4 separate regions of the Homo sapiens genome follow, and regions 1, 2 and 4 are each linked to region 3. Evidence: promoter capture Hi-C in human tissues and cell types (Jung and others, 2019). All regions are on one chromosome and are shown on one strand. The core of a region is centred on a gene start or on the middle of the fragment in contact, and the rest is flanking DNA. Distances in the headings are between cores, read along the strand shown. Region 1 has its middle 49 kb from the start of PNMA8B. Region 2 overlaps PRKD2 (protein kinase D2). Region 3 holds the start of PTGIR (prostaglandin I2 receptor). Region 4 overlaps STRN4 (striatin 4).

Region 1 (5,528 bases), core at 494-2,993, 81 kb before region 3:
CGCCACTGCACTCCAGCCTGGGTGACAGAGCAAGACTCTGTCTACAAAAAAAAAAAAAAAAAAAAAAAAAATCAATTTTAATAGAGTGGCACATTGAGAACATACCCTAAACATTCATTCTGTTCTCCCGTGCAGCCAGGAGCTCCAGTTAATTTTCCTGTTACCAGCCTCATTTGTTAACTCTGTTCATTTGTGTCTTTCCTTGAAAGGATAATTTGAACAAAAGAGTCTAAGATTTTTTTAGAAATTGTTGCAATATCTGAAAAAAAAAAAAAAGAACCTCCCAAAGAAACCTGCATTCTGATTGGTTGTCTTCCTTGATTATTTGTTGCTATGGTGACCAGGAGGTTAAATAGCATCTCTGTATTTCCTAAAGAATAAATACTGGTTGGTTTTCTCTGGCAAATCAGAAAAGGATCATTTCTCTCCTTCCATGATCATGATGCAATAAAAGCCTAGGGCTCTTCTAGATTTATATTTTATCAAAGAAAGTGAGAGTCTTGTCTTATCCAAATTAACAGAAGCACTTAGTCCAGTGTCCAGTCGCTTGAGTGGCGGTGGCCACTCTCGGAAGGGCAATTACAAACTGTACTAATAGTAAGTCCAGCGCGCCATCTGGTGGCCAATTAGAGAATAGCATGACCGTATCTACTTAAACTAAAAGGCGACTCACCTCCCTTCTTGTCTGTTAAGGCTGCCCTAGCAAATTAATACAATAAGCTTGTTCCTGTTGGTCTTAGTCTGATTGAGAAAGAACCCTTGACTGCTTTGACCCATAGAATATGACAGATGTGACACTGTGCTGGGCATGGCGGCTCACGCCTGTAATTCCAACACCGAGAAGCAGAGGTGGGCGGATCGCTTGATCCCAAGACTGCAAGACCAACCTGGGCAACACAGAAAGACCCCAACTCTACTAAAAATAACTTTTTTGTTTTGTTGTGAGACGGAGTTTCGCTCTTGTCGCCCAGGCTGGAGTGCAATGGCGTGATCTCGGCTCACCACAGACTCCGCCTCCTGGGTTCAAGCGATTCTCCTGCCTCAGCCTCCCGAGTAGCTGGAATGACAGGGGTCCGCCACCGCACGTGGCTAATTTTGTATTTTTAGTAGAGACAGGGTATATCCATGTTGGTCAGGCTGGTCTTGAACTCCCGACTTCCACCCACCTCCGCCTCCCAAACTGTTGGGATTACAGGCGTGAGCCACCACTCCCGGCCAAAAATATAACTTTTAAAAATAGGCTGGCGTGGTGGCCCGCACCTGTAGTCCCAGCTACTCGGGAGGCTGAGGCAAGAGGATCCCTTGAGCCTAGGAGGTAGAGGCTGCGGTGAGCTATGATGGCGCCGCTGCACTCCAGCCTGGGTGACAGAACGAGACCCTGTCTAAACAAACAAACAAACAAACAAACAAGTGACACCGCCAGGCCTGGATCTACATTTTAAGGGAACCAGCAGATTCCGTCGTGATCTCTTTGGCTCCCAGGCTACTGTGTAAGAATTGCAACTCCCCAGCCGGGCGCGGTGGCTCACGCCTGTAATCCCAGCACTTTGGGAGGCCAAGGCGGCGGATCACGAGGTCAGGAGATCGTGACCATCCTGGCTAACACGGTGAAACCCCGTCTCTACTAAAAATACAAAAATTAGCCGGGCGTGGTGGCAGGCGCCTGCAGTCCCAGCTACTCGGGAGACTGAGGCAAGAGAATGGTGTGAACCCAGGAGGTGGAGCTTTCAGTGAGCCCAGATCGCGGCCACTGCACTCCAGCCTAGGCGACAGAGCGAAACTCCGTCTCAAATAAATAAATAAATAAATAATAAAAAAAGAATTGCAGCTCCCCTAAGAGCATGGAGCTGTGAGAAGGCCCAGGAGAATTGAAGCTTCCAGACATGGGAGTGAAGAAGCCATCTTGGAGGTGGGTCCTCCAGCCCTCATCACATGATGCCACGTGGAACAGAAATGAACATCCAGTCAAACCCTTTTCACATTCCTGACCCACAAAATCCTGAACAAGCTTGGGAATTAAGCTATTACTGTGCCATTTTTTGTTGTTGTTGTTTTTGTTTTTTCTTTTTGTTTTGTTTTGGGTTTTTTTTTTTTTTTTTTTTTTTGGTTTTCTGGGTTTTATTTGAGATAGAGTTCTGCTCTTGTTGCCCAGGCTGGAGTGCAATGGCACTATCTCGGCTCACTGCAACCTCCGCCTCCTGGGTTCAAGTGATTCTCCTGCCTCAGCCTCCTGAATAGCTGAGATTACAGGTGCCCACCACCACGCCCGGCTAATTTTTGTATTTTTAGTAGAGACAGTGTTTCGCCACGTTGGCCAGGCTGGTCTCAAACTCCTGACCTCAAGTGATCCGCCCACCTCGGCCTCCCAAAATGCTGGGATTACAGGCGTGAGCCACCGCCTGCGGCCATTGTGCCACTTTTATAGAGGAGGAGATTGAGGTTCAGAGGCCCAGTTGATGGTCCAAGATCACACACTGGGAAGTACTGGAACCAGGGTTATGAAATCCTGTCTGCTTGGCTGCAAAGCCTCTACTCTTCCACACTGCATTATTTAGGAAGACAGACAGGCTTTGGGCACGAGCGTGGGCCTCACTGAGGGGAGAGGGGCCTTCTGGCCTCAGTAATATCCCTGTTCCCTTCTCTGACTGTCACTTCCCCCTTAGAGACAGAGTTTCTGCAGAGTGGAGTCTCTTCTCACGCCTGGGAGAGTTTGTGCAGGAGACATGAGAGCTGAAGATCTGGCACCACCTTTGCCTTAAAGACAAAAGGTGACATTTGGGAAAAGCATGCCACTCTTCGAGTGGTACTTAAGGATCCATGGGCTGAATCTGCCTTTTTTTCCCCAACTGATTTGGCAAGGACCTTCAAATAAATCCAGTGGAGCTTCTTGGGGCAGCATGGCCCACTCTCAAGAGTTTAGCCTTTGAGTCATGTGTGGTGGCTCGTGCCTATAATCCCAGCACTTTGGGAGGCCGAGGCAGGCTCACTTGAGGTCAGGAGTTCAAGACCAACCTAGCCAACATGGTGAAACCCCATCTCTGCTAAAAATACAAAAATCAGCTGGGCATGGTGGCAGGCACCTGTAATCCCAGCTACTCAGGAGGCTGAGGGAGGAGAATCGCTTGAACCCAGGAGGCAGAGGTGGCAGTGAACTGAGATCGCACTACTGTACTCCAGCCTGGGCAACAGAGCAAGACTCTGTCTCAAAAAAAAAAAAAAAAAAAAGAGAGAGAGAGAGAGAATTTAGCCTTTGGACTCGCACAGATCTAGGTTCAAACTCCAGCTTTGCTACTGCAGCCTCAGCGCACTTATCTGTAGAATGGGATTTCAAAATGATGTCTGCTTCTCAAAGTTGCTTTGAGAATTTGCTGATATTTTGTCTTTAAAATACTTCATTGTGTGCTGCCTTACACAAAGATCAGAATCTCTGAAAGGACAGGACAGGAACTTTTTACTCACTCACTGCTTCACTCACTGCTGTATGCCCAGTGCTTTCAAAAGCACCTGGGGCTGGGCGCGGTGGCTCATGCCTATAATCCCAGCAGTTTGGGAGGCAGAAGAGAGCAGATAACCTGAGATCAGGAGTTCAAGACCAGCCTGGCCAACATGGCAAAACCCCGTCTCTACTAAAAATCCAAAAAAAAAAAAAATTAGCCAGGCATGGTGGCGCATGCCTGTAATCCCAGCTACTCAGGAGGCTAAGGCATGAGAATTGCTTGAACCCGGGAAGCGGAGGTTGCAATGATCCGAAATCAAGCCACTGCACTCCAGCCTAGGCTCCATCTCATAAAAAAAAAATAATTAAAAACAGTAAAAATAAATAAAAAGCACTCAGCGTGGGATTTTCAATAAATAGTTACTGAATGAGTAAATCAAAAGCAGTCAATGTTACATATGATGATCAGGGCATTTTCAGTTGCAAGCAACAGAAATCTAAGTCAAACTGGCTAAAGGAGAAACAAAAATTCACTGGCCATCTTATTGTAAGACAATAGTGTAGCTTAAACAATAAAAACAAATTGAATTCTCTTTCCCATAGTAGCTCCGGGGTGAATGACCTTGTGAGGCTGTGCGTGTGGCCATCATTCAGGAACCCAGATTCTTTCGGATTGTTGCTTAAAGTGTAGTCCCGAGACCAGCAGCAGCCTCTGGCAATTCATAGGAAATGCACATTCCCAGGTTCCCCCAAGACCTACTAAGTCGGAAGCTCCGGGGGCAGGACCCAGAAAACTGTGCCCTAACAAACTCTCCAGGGAATTCTGATGCCCACTTTGAGAGCCACTGACCTCATGCTCTGTCAGCATTTGCATAATTGAATGTGCCACCTCTGAGTGACTTGGTGAAAGGGAAAAAAGAGAAAGTTCAGAGCAAGACATTTCCTTGAAAGCAGGTAAAGTGGAAATTGCGCAAGTCATGTCCAACTGCAAGCCACTGGGGAGGACCCAGTCATGTGGCTGCAGCCAACCTCAAGGGAGGCTGGGAAATGTAGTCCCCAGCCAGGCAGCCATGTGCCTGAGGAGAAGAGGAGATGGGCTTTTGCTGTCCAAAGGTTTTTGTTTGTTTGTGTTAAGAGACAGGACCTCACTCAGTTCCCCAGGCTGGAGTGCAGTAGCTGCAGCCTCAATCTCCCAGGCTCAAGGGAGCCTCCTGTCTCAGCCTCTCAAGTAGCTGGGACTACAGGTGCATGCCACCATACCCAGCTAATTTTTGCATTTTTTTAGAGACTAGGTCTCAACATATTGCCCAGGCTGGTCTCAAACTCCTGGGCTCCATTCACCTGGGCCTTCCAAAGTGCTTGGATGACAGGCATGAGCCACCACTCTAAGCCCCTGTCCAAAGCTTAAGACTGCTGCAGCCATACTCCTCAGGGTCCCAAAGTCTTCCTTGTTACCTGAAAGCAGAAATAAATAGTTCTGAGGTGCCAGCAGTTTTCATGGACACCTCCCCAGGTGATATGATTAGGCTTCATGTCCCCACCCAAATCTCATCTTGAATTGTAATCGCCATAATCCCCATGAGTCAAGGGAGAGACAGATGGAGATAATTGAATCATGGGGGTGGTTTCCCCTATGCTATTCTCATGATAGTGAGTGAGATCTAATGGTTTTGTAAGGGGCTCTTTCCCCTTTACTGGGCACTTCTCCTTCCTGCCGCTTTGTGAAGAAGGTGCCTTGCTTCCCCTTTGCCTTCAGCCATGATTGTAAGTTTCCTGAGGCCTCCCTAGCCATGTGGAACTGTGAGTCAATTACACCTCTTTCCTTTATAAATTACCCAGTCTCAGGCAGTTCTTCACAGCAGTGTGAAAACGGACTAATAGGCCAGGCGCAGTGGCTCACGCCTGTAATCCCAGCAGGGGAGGCTGAGGTGGGTGGATCATGAGGTCAGAAGTTCGAGATCAGCCTGGTCAATATGGTGAAACCCTGTCTCTACTAAAAATACAAAAATTAGCTGGGCCTGGTGGCACACACCTGTAATCCCAGTTACTTGGGAGGCTGAGGCAGGAGAATCACTTGAACCCAGGAGGCGGA
Region 2 (5,979 bases), core at 1,195-3,694, 71 kb after region 3:
TGGGATTAACAGGAGTGATTAACAGAGTTTGAACCCAGGCCTGCTGAGTCCAGAAGCTGCGTTCTCAACCCCACCATTGCCCACTTTCCTCTTTGGCCCTTCCATTCCCCAGAACCGTGCCCCACCCATCTAGATCTATTCTCTCAAGGACCCGAGGTGGGAGGACTTACTGTGGGGCGCGTGGCCTGGGGCGCTGGGTGCGTCCTGAAGGATGACGGGCATCAGGGCCTGGCGGATGGCTGTCTCCCAGCCCCGGGCGGCCTCAGCCCCCTGCCCACTTGGCCCACCCGGAGTCCCGCCAGGCATCTCGCCCACGAAGTAGGTGGCATTGGCAGTGACGATCTCAAAGCAGTGTGGGTTGGTGCCCGGCGGCACAAGGCTGAAGTTCTGGGCGGACTCCACCGTGAGGATTTCTGACAGCGGAATTTCCTGCAGGACGTGGAACCAGCACAGGTGAGGATGCCAGGCAGACCTTGGAATTCTAGTGCTTACCCAGAAGGATACACGGGATCCATGTTGATAGGGATGGGCCTGGTTTGCACAGTGGTCAGACAAGTTCCCAGTAATTCTAAGCCTGTTCTCACTGTTCTTTTATAATTACTGGCAGAGGCCAGGTGCGGTGGCTCATGCCTGTAATCCCAACACTTTGGAAGGCCGAGGTGGGCAGCTCACTTGAGGTCAGGAGTTCGAGACCAGCCTGGCCAACATGGCAAAATCCCGTCTCTACTGAAAATACAAAAATTAGCCAGGCGTGGTGGTGTGCGCCTGTAATCCCAGCTAATCGGGAGGCTGAGGCAGGAAAATCGCTTGCACCTGGGAGGCGGTGGTTGTAATGAGCCAAGATCGCACCACTGCACTCCAGCCTGGGCGACAGAGTGAGATTCCGTCTCAAAAATAATAATAATAATACTAATTACTGGCAGAAGTGATATTGAAGCAGAGACCAGAAAGGTAAGAAGCAGCCAGTTGGCAAGGAGTAGGGGAACAGCATGTGCAAAGGCCCTAAGGAAAGGCTATGCTCAAAAGCCAAGCTGTATCCCCATCACATGGGCGGTGCCTGGACATAGTAAAAGCTTGATAAACATTTGATGGCCGGATGTGGTGGCTCGTGCCTGTACTCCCAGCACTTTGGGAGGCCGAGGTGGGCAGATGGCCCAGGAGTTCAAGACCAGCCTGGGCAACACAGTGAGACCCCAGCTCTACAAAAAATTTAAAAATTAGGCATGGTGCCACAAGCCTGTAATCCCAGCACTTTGGGAGGCCAAGGCAGGCAGATCGCTGGAGCCCAGGAGTTTGAGACCAGCCAGAGCAACACAATGAGACCCCCATCTCTACAAAAAATAAAAAAACTAGCCAGGTGTGGTGGTGCGCACCTGTAATCCCAGCTACTGTGGAGGTGGGAGAATCATTTGAGCCAGGGAGGCAGAGGTTACAGTGAGCCATGATCATGCCACTGCACCTGGGAGACAGGGCAAGAGCCTGTCTCAAAATAAATAAATGGGCTGGGCATGGTGGCTCATGCCTGTAATCCCAACACTTTGGGAGGCCAAGGCAGGCGGATCACAAAGTCAGGAGTTCGAGACCCGCCTGACCAACATGGTGAAAGCCCATCTCTACTAAAAATACAAAAATTAGCCAGGCGTGGTGGCACACCTATAATCCTAGCTACTTGGGAGGCTGAGGCAGAAGAATCACTTGAACCCCGGAGGCGGAGGTTGCAGTGAGCCAAGATCGCGCCACTGCACTCCAGCCTGGGTGACAGAGCGAGACTCCGTCTCAAAAATAAACGTTTGATAATAAATGGAGGAAATGAGGCCACACAGGGCTTTGCGGGCCACAAGGAAGAGCCTGGGCTTTGTCCAAGGGCCCTAGGAAGCCACTGAAGGCTTTTGAGCATCATCCGCTTGTGTGCGGAGGGCAGATGGAATAGAATGAGATGGAGACAGAGAACCAGGAAGGAGGCTGAGGGGACCCAGGCGGGACAGAAGGCACAGGGACTATGGGGTGGGAAACGTGTCAAAAGAGGAAGGAGGGAGGTAGGAGAGAGGAAAGAATGAATGACTTAGGCAGCCCATAAAACCAGGTGATGACATGGACACGTCGGGGGGGCATGGTGAGGACAGCATTATATTTTATTTTATTTTATTTTTTTGAGATGGAGTCTTGCTCTGTTGCCCAGGCAGGAGTGCAGTGACGCGATCTCAGCTCACTGCAACCTCCACCTCCCAGGTTCAAGCAATTCTCCTGCCTCAGCCTCCCAAGTAGCTGGGGTTATAGGCACCCGCCACCATGCCCAGCTAATTTTTGTATTTTTAGTACAGACAAGGTTTCACCATATTGGCCAGGCTGGTTTCGAACTCATGATCTCAAGTGATCCGCCCACCTCGGCCTCTGAAAGCGCTGGGATTACAGGCGTGAGCCACCACGCCTGGCCAAGGACAGCATTTTAGATGGTGTGGTCTGAGCAAAATGGGAAGATGATAAGGAACCAGCCATGGAAAGTTCAAGGAAGACGCTCCAGGGCAGGTAACAGCTGGAGTCCAGGTTTTATTACTCTAAGACAATGGGAGCCACTGGGGGGTTTGACGGTTTTAATGAAGACTCCCCTGGCTGTGGGGGAAATGACAGAGGTTGTGAGGTCAGAAGCAAGGACCCTGCAAGGAGAAGGCTGAAACCATCCAGGTGGAAGACAGTGGCTGGGACACAGTGTGGGCATGGGAGGTGGTGACGAATACGCACACAATGCAATACATTAATTATAAAGAAATAGTGAGGCCGGGTGCGGTGGCTCATGCCTGTAATCCCAGCACTTTGGGAGGCCGAGGGGGGCAGATCATGAGGTCAAGAGATCAAGACCATCCTGTCCAACATGGTGAAACCCCGTCTCTACTAAAAATACAAAAATTAGCTGGGTGTGGTGGCATTCACCTGTAGTCCTAGGGTGGGAGGCTGAGGCAGGAGAATCGCTTGAACCCGGGAAGCGGAGGTTGCAGTGAGCCGAGATCGCGCCACTGCACTCCAGCTGGGCGACAGAGTGAGACTCTGTCTCAAAAAATAAATAAATAACAAAAAATAAAGGAATAGTGAGAACAGCCTTAGAATTACTGGGAGCTTAATATATACCACGCCTTAAGCCAATTGGTTTAGTGGATTGGCTCTTTGAATTCTCGCACCAGCCCTGAGGTGAGTATTAGCATTTGAGGCATTTTGCAGGTGAGAAGCGTGAGGCACTGAGAAGTAAGGGAACCTGCCCGGAGTCCCCCTGGCTGGAAAGTGGTGGGGCCAGAATCGGATGGGCAGCACTTGCTGATGAGCTGGAAGCAGGGAGGCTGGGGGTGGGCAGAGGGTGTGATTTGCAGGATCTGTCTGGAGTAACTGGGGGTAGGAGGAGGTGTGGGAAAGTTTGTGGGCACAGCGGGAAGTCCGAGGGAGCTGAAAGCCCGGAGGCTTACCTTATAGTATCTGTTGGTCGTGTTGTTCTGGAAGAGCGTGATACACTTGCAGTCCAGGCGCCAATAGTGCCGCTTTCTCTGCAGAGATGTTTGAAGAGTCACGTGAACCGCCAGACTTTCCTGCCCAGTCCCTATCCCGTGGAGCTGCTTGGGGCTCCAGGTGCCTGGAGCACCACGTGCACGCCGTAACTCTAGCACCTACCCCACGCCGTAACCCCACCCCACCACACGCCCTAACCCCAGCCCCGCCCCTAGCCTTAACCCTAGCCCAGCCCCCACGCCCTAACCCCAGACTCGCCCCCACTTAGCCCTCTTCCTCCAGCCAAGCTCCTCCCCTAACTCTAGCCCCGCCCCTGACCTTGCCCTGAGCCCCGGGTCTTCCCTAACTCCTGCCCGTAGTCCCACCCTTACAGCCCACACTTCTAATTCTAGCCCCGCCTCCAGCACGGCCCAGCCCACTACTGGCCCCGCTCGCGCCTAGCTCCAGCCCCACCCACCTAGCCCCGCCTACTCAAGCTGAGCCGCCCCTCTTCCAGCCTTCGCTCCGCCGTACCCGGCCCCGCCCCGGCCACTCACCAGCGTGTCCTTGTTGCTGTAATGAACCACCCAACCCTCCCGCAGCGTGGTGCTGGATTTCCGCGTCGTGTGTCGCACCGATTGCACCACCCTCATTAGGGGGATGTACCCCAGGGAGCTGCGAAGGAAGAGGAAGGGGTGAGAAGTCACATGCAGAAAGTGACCATGCTGCTTGGGAATGCAGGGGGCATCTCTGGGAAACTAGGGAGTTGGGGACTGTTTTTGTTTGTTTGGTTTGTTTTGACATTTTCCCCCCAACACACACCCGGGAGTTGCTTTTTGTTTGTTTTTAAGAGGCTCGCTCTGTCACCCAGGCTGGAATGCAGTGGTGCGATCTCGGCTCACTGCAACCTCTGCCTCCCGGGTTCAAGCGATTCTCGTGCCTCAGCCTCCTGAGTGGCCGGGACAATCACGGTGACCATTAGGTGCACGCCACCACCCCTGGCTAATTTTTGTATTTTTAGTAGTGATGAGGTTTCACCATGTTGGCCAGGCTGGTCTCGAACTCTTTGCCTCAACTCCTTCCCTAACTCCTGCCCCTAGTCCCACCCTTAGAATCCCTTCACGAGATCCATCCGCCTCGGCCTCCCAGAGTGCTTACAGGTGTGAGCCACCACGCTGGCCCAGAAGGAGATTCTTGAGAGGGCTTCTGTAGTAGGCCTTTCTGAAGTCAGGCTGCCTAGCAAATTACCTAACCTCTTCATGCCTCAGTTTGTCCACCCAAAGGGGATGCTATGAGGAATGGAAACCTTTCTACGGAGCTTAGTACAGTGCCTGGCATACAGAGGACCTCCAGTAAGTGCTAATTGGTATTTAGTCCAGCAATTGTGGAGCCAGCTGTGTGACACTGGGTAAGTGATTCAACCTCTCTGGGCCTCACCTCCCTCATTTGTGCAGATGCTGTTAGTACAGTAAGGAAGGTCTACAGAGATTAAGTGGCCTGCTGGGCATGGTGGCTCATGCCTGTAATCCCAACACTTTGGGAGGCAGAAGTGGGGGGATCACTTGAGGTCAGGAGTTTGAGATTTGAGAGATTAAGTGACTTGCTCAACTCTGGAACCAACAATCTCTGGATCCCTGTGCTAGATCAGAACCTGGGTGGCCTTGATCACATCTCTTTGCCTGAGACTCAGTTTCCCCATCTGTGAAATGGGCTGCCTCTCCCCACACCCGCCACCCCCAATCCCTCAAGGTCCAACTCTTGACAGTGTATGACGGTGTTACTAGGCATTCCCAGGAAAGACGTGGGAGAAAGGGAACCTGCGGCTTCAGGCTGCTTGGGTTGGGAGGCACCGCAGGAAACACTCTGTCGTCACTGTGACTGGCTTACCCATCCCCTTTCTGTCCAACCCTCTTCCCCTCGCCCTCCCTGCTGCAGCTACATGGGTCTCTTTGCTGTCCCTGGAACACGGTGCCTCCACCCCAGGGCCTTTGCACTCGCTGTTGCCTCTGCCTGGAAGCCTTTTCCCCCAGAGCCCCACAAGGCTCCTTCCCTCCCCTCCCTTCAACTGCCACTTCCTCAGCGAGGTCTCCTTGAAGGACCCTAAGATAGCATGTCCCCCATTCTCCATCTCCTCTTGTTTTTATCACCATTACCAATACCCGATGCTATGGATGCATTTATTAGCTGTCTCCCCACTGAGGCAGTCAGCTCCAGAAGGGCAGACTTTTACCTCTTTTGTTCATAGCTGTGTGCTTGAACACAGCAGGTGCTCATTAAATATTTTCCAGTGCACCTGTGAGGGTGCCCCCTTACCCCTACCCCAGGTTTATCACCCCGTGGGGTAGGTACCTCATCGCCCCAGGAGGAAACCGTGGCACACAGGGAAGCGCCTAGCAAGTGAAGTGGTAGAGCTGGGATCTGGGCTGTCACCCTCCAGCGCCTGTGTGAACTGTGCTTTCTCAATAAACATTCACGCCACACCCAGATAGGAAGTGCCTGATCTGAGCC
Region 3 (5,690 bases), core at 2,213-4,712:
TCTCACTGCTGCTGTCAGGGGCGACAGCCTGGGTGAAGCAGCGGATCTGAGGGCAGGGTGAGGGCGTCAAGGAGCACCCAGGAGTCCTCAGCCTCCCCACCCTGGCTCCCTCCTCCCACTTGCTTACCAGGGATGAGGTAGGGGTGACATGTCAGAGGGGAAGGAGATAAGATAAAGACTAAGTAACAAATGTATCTGGGGAACACAGGGAGAGAAAGCCCCAGGAAATTGCCAGAGATGCCTAAGGGGAGAGGGATGGGGGCCAGGTATGTGGGTCCCCCCACCCTTGGAAGCTGGGAGGACCCTCGGGCTCCACAGATTTTTGAGTATAACGTCCCTGCAAGAAGGTGGCGCCACCCGGCTGGGCCCCCTGAAACTGCCGCAGAGCTGCGGTGGTGCCTGTGTGTATCTGTCCACGGCATCTGAGTCTCTGAGTCAGAGTAACCCCCAAAAAAGATTTAAGGACCCCCCAATCCGGCCTGGCCTCTTGCATTTTACAGAAACAGAAACTGAAGCTCAGAAGAAAGGTGGCACGACCAGGTGTCACAGACACTGAGTGGGTACCAGGGTCTGTGCCACTCCCATTGGGGAGGGGCAGGACGGGGTCCCCGCAGGAAACCGAGGTGCAGAGGCAAGGGTGGGGCCTGCTCTGAGGCAGAGGGGAGCCAGGTAGGTGGGAGATCAGGCTCTACAATGGAAGGACCCAGGACCAGGACCTGGCTCTGTGTGACTGGGCGAAAGACACTGCCCCTCATCTGTAAAAACGGGGATGGGAGAGAACGTTCTCTTGGTTTCCTGCCAAATACTGTGGAATGGGTGGCTATGATCATTTTGAAAATTATCTTAGGAAGTATCTGTAAGCCACTAAGCACGGGGCGGGCATAGAGAAGTGCTCAATGAGTGGTGGTCTTGTCATTACAGGGGTGGGGAAGGATGGGGGATGCATTTCATCATGGGGGGCTCAGGATGCCTAAGCTGGGAGACAAGGTATCAGAAGAAGTCAGATGCAGAAAGACCCCTCCAGAAAGCCAGGAGCTGTCTGACTGAGGACCAAGCCTCTGTCTGATTTGTTTTTGTTTTCTTTGTTTTTGTTTTGAGACAAGGTCTTGCTCTGTCAGCTAGGCTGGGATGCAGTGGTATAATCACAGCTCACTGCAGCCTCAACCTCCCAGGCCGGAGCAATCCTCCCACCTCAGCCTCACAAGTAGCTGAGACCACAGGCACAGGCCATCATGCCAGGCTAATTTTTAAATGTTTCATAGAGATGGGGTTTCACCATGTTGCCCAGGCTGGTCTCAAACCTCTGGGCTCAAGTGATCGTCCTGCCTCGCCTTTCTTTTTCTTTTTTTTCTTATTTTTTTTTTTTTTTTTTTGGGACGGGGTCTCACTCTGTCACCCAGGCTATAGTGCAGTGGCACGATCTCAGCTCACTGCAACCTCCGCCTCCGGGGTTCAAGCGATTCTCCTGGCTCAGCCTCCCAAGTAGCTGGGACTTCAGGCATGTGCCACTACGTCCGGCTACTTTTTATTTATTTATTTGTTGTATTTTTAGTAGAGACAGGGTTTCATCATGTTGGCCAGACTGGTCTCGAACTCCTGACCTCAAATGATCCGCCGGCCTCGGCCTCCCAAAGTGCTGGGATTACAGGTGTGAGCCACCGCATCCGGTCCTGCCTCGGCCTTTCTACATGCTGGGATTACAGGCGTGAGCCACCATGCCCACGATGTCTCACCTCTTTTGAGCCTCAGTCTCCCCATCTGTGACATGGGCACAACCCACAGAGCTGCCCTCCTCCTCTCCCCACTCCTCCCAGCTCCGGAGGGGACTCACCGTGAGAGGCAGGGAGCACACGGCCATGACCACTGTCATGAGGGCCAGCAGGATCAGGTGGTCCACCTCGTCCTCTCCGGTGCGCGGCCGTGGACCCAGAGAGCCCTGGTGGCGCTTCTGCTGGCGGTACATGCGGCAGAGGCTGAGGGTGACCGAGCCGTTGCAGAGGAAGATGGCAGCCACCAGCAGGGCCACCAGGCCGGCGTAGGCCAGCGAGAAGGCGGCGCCGCCCGGCTGGGCCCAGCGCATGCGGAGGAAGCACCAGCTGCCGGGGCAGTACTGCTGGTGTTGGCCCAGGCCCAGCAGGGGCAGCGCGCAGAAGAGGACGCAGAAGGCGTAGATGGCTGGCAGCGCCAGGCGGGCGCAGCGGGGCCCGTCCAGCTGCGCGTAGAGGTAGGGGTGGCTCAGCGCCAGGCAGCGCTCCACGGCCATGGCAAAGAGGATGAGCATGGACGCCAGGCCGAAGAAGGTCATGGCGAAGGCGAAGGCATCGCACAGGGCGGGGCCGCCTCGGGCCAGGCCCAGCAGGGAGCTGTTGCGCGCATAGGCCACGAACACGGCCGGGCTCAGGAAGCTGGTGCCCAGCAGGTCGGTGGCCGCCAGTCCGGTCACCAGCACCGCGAAGGCCGAGGGGCGCGCCGGTCGCCGTGCGCTCAGGATGCCCAGGGCCAGCCCGTTGCCCACCACACCGGCCACGAACATCAGGGTGCTGGTGGCCGGCCCCACCGAGCCCCGCACGTAGGTGAGGTTCCTGCACGAATCCGCCATCCCAGGTCTGGGCTGGAGGGTTCCCAAGGTGGGGGGTCAGAGGGAGCCAGGGCTACCCCCACCACCCAGCCCACTCAGATGTCCCTGCTGGCCAGTCCTTTTGGCAGCTGGGGCCTCCCAGCCAACCCCCAGTTCTCCTGTGTGTGCGGGTATGCAGTCCTCTCCCCTCTGGCTTCTCCAGTATCTCTCTCTGTCTCTCCCCACCTTCCTGTTTCTCTTTCTCTCTTTCTTTTCTTTCGTTTCTTTTGAGACAGAGTCTCACTCTGTTGTCCAGGATGGAGAGCAATGGCATGATCTCGGCTCACTGCAACCTCCACCTCCTGGGTTCAAGCGATTCTCCTGCCCCAGCCTCTGGAGTAGATGAGATTACAGGCGTCCACTACCACGCCCAGCTAATTTTTGTATTTTCAGTAGAGACGGGGTTCCACCATGTTGGTCAGGCTGGTCTCGAACTCCTGACCTCAGGTGATCCATCCACCTTGGCTTCCCAAAGTGCTGAGATTACAGGTGTGAGCCACCATGCCTGACACCCACCACCCCCCCACCACCTCCTGTTTCTTTCCTTCTCTAGCTCTGTTTCTGCCATTAAAGAGACAGAGAACATCCGGGCATTGCCAGTTCTTTCCCTCCCTGTCTCTCGGTCTCTTGCTGATATCTCCCTGTCTCTGTCCCCTCCCTTGTCCTTGTCCTCCCCGTACCTTTCTCCCTCTAACCCCACACCCTCTACCTGCTCCTGCTCTGTGTTGCTGCATCCCCAGCCCCTCACCGCACCTCTCCAGTCTTGCCCAGGCTCTCCTGTCCCGTGCGTCTGTGCCTTCACTTGCTTTGCTCCTCGTGTCTCTCGCTGCCTGTGTCGGTCTGTGTGTCAGCTTCTCCTTCCCTCCTCCCTCCGTCCCTCCCTCCTTCCCACCCTCCTCAGCTTGCCTGCTCACCCCAGCTTTTTCATTTCCTCTCTCTGCCCCGCCCTCCCTCACTGTTCTCCAGAGGGCCCCCTGGCACACTCCCCACTCCCCGTCCACCCGCCCAATCCAGGACATCCATCTCCCATCGCTGCCTCCACTCTCCTCCCCACATCCTCTCTTGGTTCCCATCACTGAGCCACCTGCCACCTCCCCACACACAGGTCTCCTCCCTCCCCCAGTGTCTCCCTCTCTGGCCTGGGTGGGGAATTCCTGAGTCACCATCACTTAGGCTTGGAGCCTCCCGGGGTAGTAGGGGGCCTCTAGGAGGGACCTGAAGAGCACAGTTGACCAGGCTTCAGTGGGGTGGTCTTGGCCTGGGCTGTCTCAGGGTGGCCTCTGGGATCTATTCTGGGCTCCAGGCCCCGGGGCTGAGGACATTGCCCAGGGATTGAGAAATGACCAGGAAATTCCTCTCTGATGTAGTGTTTTCCAGACACCACTGAGAGTTCTGGTCCCTGGACACAATTCACTCCTTCCAGAAAGCTGAGGAAGGAGGCTTGGCCAGAGAGAGACATGCCAGTCCCTCGAGCCTGTCCCTGGGCACCCAGCTCACCCTGCAGAGACCCGAGAAGAAAGCATGAAGGGGTGTATTTGGTGTCCAGTTGTCAGGGACAGGCTTGGGAGACTTCCATGGCCCATGATGGAAAGGTAGCACTGGGCCACCGTCCGACTTCTCGCACAGCACCCCTAGGCCCCAGGCCAAGCTCTGGTGACCTTGACCTTCAGGAATCATATTTTGATCACAGGAAGCTGTCCACAGCTCCAACATTGCTGCCATGTGTCCCCCACCCTCCCCAAACACAGCCAAGCCACCACCGCTGCAGCCTCGGGCCAGTGTGACAGACCCACATGTTCCCGCTACCCGCACAGCGTTCACGGGTCTCCCTTCCCACGGAGTCGGTGGCTTCCCAGGCAGCCTCCCAGCCCAAAAGGGCCAGATAAAACCTCAGAGACCCTCTCTGAGCCCCGCTGTTTCTCAGGGGGACGGTCTCAGATCCATTCGACTTGGCTTCCTGTTTCCATCTGACCACCTTTTTTCTTGCTGCGAGATGGTCCCAGGTGAGGAGAGGGAGCTGGTAGACTTCAGCCTCCTTCTCTGTGCGTGGGGTAACACGGGCCTCAGGGACCTGGTGGCCAGCCTCGGCCTGCAGCACATCCCAGATTGGTCTTTGTAACAAGGAGAGAGGCTGTGCGGGTGTCTCTTGTCCAAGGCCAGGAGGGATGTGTCCAACCCAAGGACTGGACTGTGGGCAGCTGCCGTCTTGCCCTCTGTACCCCGGTGTGTGACCACAACCCCTTTGCCCCTCCCCCCCATCTCCCTATCACCCTTGCCCAGCTGGCACCCGCAGCTTCCAGCAGGATGGACGCCCAAGTTCCAGCCCCACCGTGGCTCCCTAAGGGACCCCCCAGCCCTGCTCTGGGGGTGCCTGTACATGTGGGCTCCAGGTCCTGCCACGTTGTCCCGCCTCATGCCGTGAGGTCCCCAGACAGACCAGAGGGAACTCAGGAAGTTATATCATATTAATGAAGGATGATGCCTGGCAGGCGTGCATCTTGTTTCGGCATCGGGGGGGCCTCTGGTTCCCGGAGACTCCCTCTCTCGCTTCCTGTTACAAGGACGGTTAACATTCAGGAAGTCCCCTCTGCTCCCATGCCCAGTGGGACCACAGTCAAACCCTTGTCCCTTCCAGGCCTCAGTTTCTTTTTTGTTGTTGTTTTTCTTTTTGCTTGTTTGTTTTTGTTTTGAGATGGAATCTTGCTCTGTCACCCAGGCTGGAGTACACTGGCATGATCTCAGCTCACTGCAACCTCCGCCTCCCGGGTTCAAGCGACTCTCGTGCCTCAGCCTCCCGAGTAGCTGGGATTACAGGCATGTGCCACTGCGCCCAATTTTTATATTTTTAGTAGAGGTGGGGTTTCACCATGTTGGCCAGGCTGGTCTTGAACGCCTGACCTCAGGTGATCCGCCCGCCTCGGCCTCCCATAGTGCTGGGATTACAGGCGTGAACCACCTTGCCTGGCTGTTCGTTTGTTTTTGAGACAGGGTCTTGCTCTGTCACCCAGGCTGGAGTGTAGTGCTGCAATCTCGGTTCACTGCAACCTCTACCTCTGGGGTTCAAGCGATCCTC
Region 4 (4,801 bases), core at 1,085-3,584, 120 kb after region 3:
GTTCCTTACGGGAGGTAGGATCCCTTGGAGACCCCAGATCAACTAGAAATGTCTGTGGATTGGCCAGGCACAGTGGCTCACGCCTGTAATCCCAGCCCTTTGGGAGGCTGAGGTGGGCAGATGACTTGAGGTCAGGAGTTCAAGACCAGCCTGGCCAACATGGTGAAACCCCATCTCTACTAAAAATACAAAAAACTTAGCCAGGCATGGTGGTACACACCTGTAGTCCCAGCTACTCGGGAGGCTGAGGCAGGAGAATCGCTTGAACCTGGGAAGTGGAGATTGCAGTGGGCCAAGATCGTGCCACTGCACTCCAGCCTGGGCGACAGAGCCAGACTTCGTCTCAAAAAAAAAAAGAAATACATGTCACCAGTTACCTTATAGAAAAGAAAACTCATCTGTCCGCTTCAAGAATGGGAAATTTTTTTCCTTTTTAACACTTTTTACCAACACATATGTATATAAACATCCAAGGCCAGACAGGGAAACTACTTATATGACATCAGCATCTCTGAAGCATGAGTTTCTGTCCTTTGTGTATCTTCTCAGTCCCCCAAATCTACTCTCTGAATCACTGGAGAAGGTGTGAGGAGAGGCAGACCGACCACCGAAGACAAGTCCTGACTTTCCTCCTCACTCTCCTCCCTTCCCTCCTGGGGTTTGGTGATTGATCCCTCAACCTCCCAGGGGCAGTTCAGCCTGCCGGGAACCTACACCTTGGTCAATACCTGCCACTGTTTGGTGACTGCCCACACACATCAGGTGCCCCAGTAAGGCGCTGGGGAATAACAGAGGAGCCATGTGGTTCCTGCACCCACAGGGCTCAGTCCCATGCAGGAGACAGGCATGAGCAGCAACTCACATGCAATGTGACTAGGACCCCATTGCGGGAGCGAAGGACGCTATGGGAAGAGGGACAAGAGGCGACAATTCAGCTAAGGCCTGAAGCTGAAGAGAAGTTAGCCAGGGGAGGGAAGGGCCCTGCTGGCAGAGGACGGAGACAAGAGCTGCATGGTGGGCTTAAGGAACTCTAAAAAAGGCCAGGATGGCTGCTTCAGAACCTGTAAAAGGCTCAGTGAAGCCATGGAAGGGTTTTAAGTACAGAGAGGTAACCGATTCGCATGTTATAAAGGCAGCTCCAGCTAAAACATGGAGAACTGACTGGAGGGAGTTCTGGAGGGAGACTAGAGGGAGGGAGCAGGAGAGCGGCAGAGCTGGACACAGAGACCCCCATCACAGATGAGGGCAGTCCCAGAAATCCCAGGACAGAACGGTAGTGGCTTGGACTAGGCCGGGGCAGTGGACACAGTAGTGGTCTATCTGTGGGGGCAGGAGGTGGAGTTGGGCATCCCAACCAGACCTGTCACTGGCTGGGTTCCCCCTTCATCCCTCTGCTGCCTCATCGAGCTGTGGTCTCCCTCCTCCTAATGAGGATGTGAGGGTCTCAGCTGCCCACTCTGCTTTGCTGTCCCTTTCCCAGTGCCTCTGGAAAGAGAACCAGAAAGACATGGTTGGAGCATCTCAGGGAGGTGGAAACCCACCAAAAACGGGAAGCGTCAGTGGCCAGTCTCTCCCTCGCTGCAAACGCCAGCAGCCCCCACGGGCTGTCTGGTCTGCGAGGGCCAAGGTAGGCCTGAGGGTCGGTCGGGGATCTGGAAGTGCCGCTCACCATATCCACCCACTGCCACTCCCTCTAGCCAGAGCCGCAGAGCATGCGCTCCCAAAACCTTCTGATACCTGGCAGCTACTGCCTCTCCGCCCCTCCAGCTATTCCCAGCAAGGCGACATCTAAAGGCTTCGGAGGAGTCCCAGCAATTCAGTCCTCCCAGGAGCTGATGCCTCTCTGAATTCGCTGCTTCCTGTCCCAGCTAGCTGGGAAGAGTCCCCGTTTCGTGCCATCTAGCCCTGCATCTCCTAAGGGCCTCCTTCCCAAGCTTCAGCAGCTGCTGGCAGGAATGGGCCCCCAGGAAGCTGAAGTGGGCAGGGGCAGCTCCGCACATTCTCTGCTGGCACCGCACTCACTGCAGGTCCCTGTCGCTGCTCCTATACAAATCTCCAGTTCAGATCCCTCATTAAAAGGTCCCTCCCATCCTCAAAAAGCTTCCCCTCTCAGAGTTGCCACAGAACAGGGGCAGAGCCACACAATCAACTGTGCATGAACATCTACAGCTCTGCGGTCCCCTGCACAAACAAGCTTCCTCTGCCAGCCTGGAAGTTTCGGATGGGCAGAAACCACGTTACTTACTTCTCAGAATCCCCCACCTAGCAAATGCCTGCTCATTATCAGACTGCAGCTCCGCCACCTTCCTGCTCCAAACTTATGGTGACTACTGGCAGGACCTCCCTGGGGGCTGCCTTCTCTGCCATTCAACACACAGGTACCAAGCAGGGTCGCACGGCAGGTCTTCTGCTAGGAGCAGCTGTATTAAGCTCTTCAGAGAAAAGTTATTCAGAGTCCATCAGGAAAATCTGACACTGCCTAGCTCTTAAGGGATCTCACAGGGGAAGTCACACCGTCTGTTAGCACTAAGTGTTCAAGTAAAGGTGTGTAAAAGAGGTGCCGCTGATGGGAGAGTAAACTGGTGGGTCAATGTGGCAGAGTCATTCACTGTTTCTTTTTTTATTTTTATTTTTTTTGAGATGGCATCTCGCTCTGTCACCAAGGCTGGAGTGCAGTGGTGTGATCTCGGCTCACTGCAACTTCTGCTTCCCGGGTACAAGCGATTCTCCTGCCTCAGCCTCCCGAGTAGCTGGGACTACAGGCGCCCACCACCACGCCCGACTAATTTCTGTATTTTTAGTAGAGGTGGGGTTTCACCATATCGGCCACGCTGGTCTTGAACTCCAGACCTTGTGATCCACCTGCCTTGGCCTCTCAAAGTGCTGGGATTACAGGCGCGAGCCACCGCGCCCAGCCCAATCACTGTTTCATAAACACATCCATTCTACTATTCCACTCATCTGTTCTGCTTCATTCTTGCACAGGAATAAGGGGTTCTCACTGCAGCCATGTCTGATGGGGGAAAAACTAGAAAAAATCTAAAAGTCCACCAACCAGGGTCAAACTCAATCAGCTATGGTGCAAACATCCCGTGGGACGCTATGCAGCTATCAAAAAGAAAGAGTTCTCTGTGCTGATATGAAAGGAAAACCAAAACAGATTATTATGTCACAAAATGATACATACAGCAGTAGTTCATCTATTACATAAGCACAATAACTCTTCTCTCTCAGGAGAGAAGAGCAGGAAAGGGACGAAGAGAAGGAACTTTCCTTTTTCACTTACATATATATGTGTATACACACACTCACACACACACACACACCCCTCTGAGATGTCTGAATTTTTACTAACTTAACAGAATAAAAGAAAACAAAAGTACAAAGTGACAGTGCTGGTACCATGCCAGACACAAGTTCCTCTCAAACTCCAAGAAGGGTCAGTAAGTGAGGGGATAAACATCTTTTCTCTCATCAGCCTCCAGGATGAGAAGATGGTGTGGTGGGTGCTGTGCGGTGCACTGGTGCAAAGTCCCAGAGGCCAAGATTCAGTCCAAGCTCTGCTATGACTGCTTGGGTGACCCTGGGGAGGCCACTATGCTTGCCTGAACCAATTTTCTCAACTGTACTGGGTAGCAGAGAGGTACAGAACATGGGCTTAAAAGTCTACCGACGGTCGGGCATGGTGGCTTATGCCTGTAATCCCAGCACTTTGGGAGGCCGAGGCAGGTGGATCTCTTGAGGCCAGGAGTTCGAAACCAGCCTGACCAACGTGGCAAAACCCCATCTCTACTAAAAATACAAAAATCAGCCAGGCGTGGTGGTGGTGCACACCTGTAATCCCAGCTACTTGCGAGGCTGAGGCAGGAGAATCGCTTGAACCTGGGAGGCAGTGGTTGCAATGAGCCAAGATCATGCCACTGCACTCCACCCTGGGTGACAGAGTGAGACTCTGTCTCAAAAAAATAAAAATAAAAATAAATAAATAAATAAATAAATAAACAAAAGGTCCACCACAGACCAGCCCTTCTGCTCATCTGCTGGGATCCTAGATAAATCACCCTCTCAAAACCTCCATTTCCTCTCCTGATTTTTTTTAAAGGTAGGGGGAATATCCTTTATCCTCCCAGAATGCTGCAAGAATTAAATGACAGCTCGTATCTACAGTACTTGATACAGCGCCCCAGACATGGTATGTGCTCACTAAATTGCAGCTGGTACCGTTATTGCTGAGTGAGGTAATGACACTGCCTCTGCCTACATCACAGGGCATTGTGAAGATCTGATGAGATGTATGCTGGGAAAGAGCTTCGGAAGTAGAGAGTGGGACAGAAGTGAGAGCAGTTACATAAGGATTCTGCTCCCATCCCAGCCCCAAGCCTCAGCCACCACAAGTGAGGGCAGGGGGAGAGTTACTGGAGGGTCTTTACTCATCCTATGAACAAAATGCTTTTTTTTGAGACAGGATCTCACTCTTTTGCCCAGGCTGGAGTGCAGTGGTGCAATCATGGCTCACCGCAGCCTCAACCTCCGGGGTTTAAGCAATCCTCCCACCTCAGCCTCCTGAGTAGCTGGGACTACAGGCGCATGTCACCACACCCGGCTAATTTTTGTACTTTTTTGTAGAGATGAGGTCTTGCTATGTTGGCCAGGCTGGCCTCGAACTCCTGGGCTCAAGGGATTCTCCCACCTCAACCTCCCCAAGTGTTGGGATTACAGGCGTGAGCCACCGCACCCCATCCCTACCGACACAATTCTCATCAGCTATTTATTTGGGTACCAGCTTCCTACTAGATAGCAA

What was found. Contacts are between HindIII fragments. The study calls those that stand out against the background at their distance.
Region 1: a fragment that was not itself captured here is called in contact with the fragment with the promoter of PTGIR in region 3 in 9 of the 25 tissues and cell types used here (IMR-90 fibroblasts, adrenal gland, dorsolateral prefrontal cortex and 6 more).
Region 2: a fragment that was not itself captured here is called in contact with the fragment with the promoter of PTGIR in region 3 in 2 of the 25 tissues and cell types used here (mesenchymal stem cells and spleen).
Region 4: a contact is called between a fragment that was not itself captured here and the fragment with the promoter of PTGIR in region 3, in 5 of the 25 tissues and cell types used here (dorsolateral prefrontal cortex, lymphoblastoid cells, small bowel and 2 more).

The regions. Positions count from the first base shown.
Region 1 is chr19:46,542,251-46,547,778 of GRCh38, forward strand. It overlaps the pseudogene PPP5D1P. Among named protein-coding and RNA genes, the nearest start is that of PNMA8B, 49 kb to the left of the region's middle. The HindIII fragment of the contact is 3,360 bases long and covers 64-3,423 here.
Region 2 is chr19:46,693,705-46,699,683 of GRCh38, forward strand. PRKD2 (protein kinase D2) reads right to left here. Exons shown (of 18, transcript NM_016457.5): 8 at 4,029-4,146; 9 at 3,453-3,530; 10 at 171-429. Among named protein-coding and RNA genes, the nearest start is that of MIR320E, 13 kb to the right of the region's middle. RefSeq lists an enhancer at 3,867-4,367. The HindIII fragment of the contact is 5,541 bases long and covers 1-5,215 here.
Region 3 is chr19:46,621,627-46,627,316 of GRCh38, forward strand. PTGIR (prostaglandin I2 receptor) reads right to left here and starts at 3,463. Exons shown (of 3, transcript NM_000960.4): 1 at 3,371-3,463; 2 at 1,832-2,611; 3 at 1-46. The coding sequence starts at 2,599. RefSeq lists an enhancer at 3,678-4,178. The HindIII fragment of the contact is 28,599 bases long and covers 1-5,690 here.
Region 4 is chr19:46,739,944-46,744,744 of GRCh38, forward strand. All of the region lies in intron 1 of STRN4 (striatin 4), which reads right to left. Among named protein-coding and RNA genes, the nearest start is that of FKRP, 3.7 kb to the right of the region's middle. The HindIII fragment of the contact is 3,275 bases long and covers 698-3,972 here.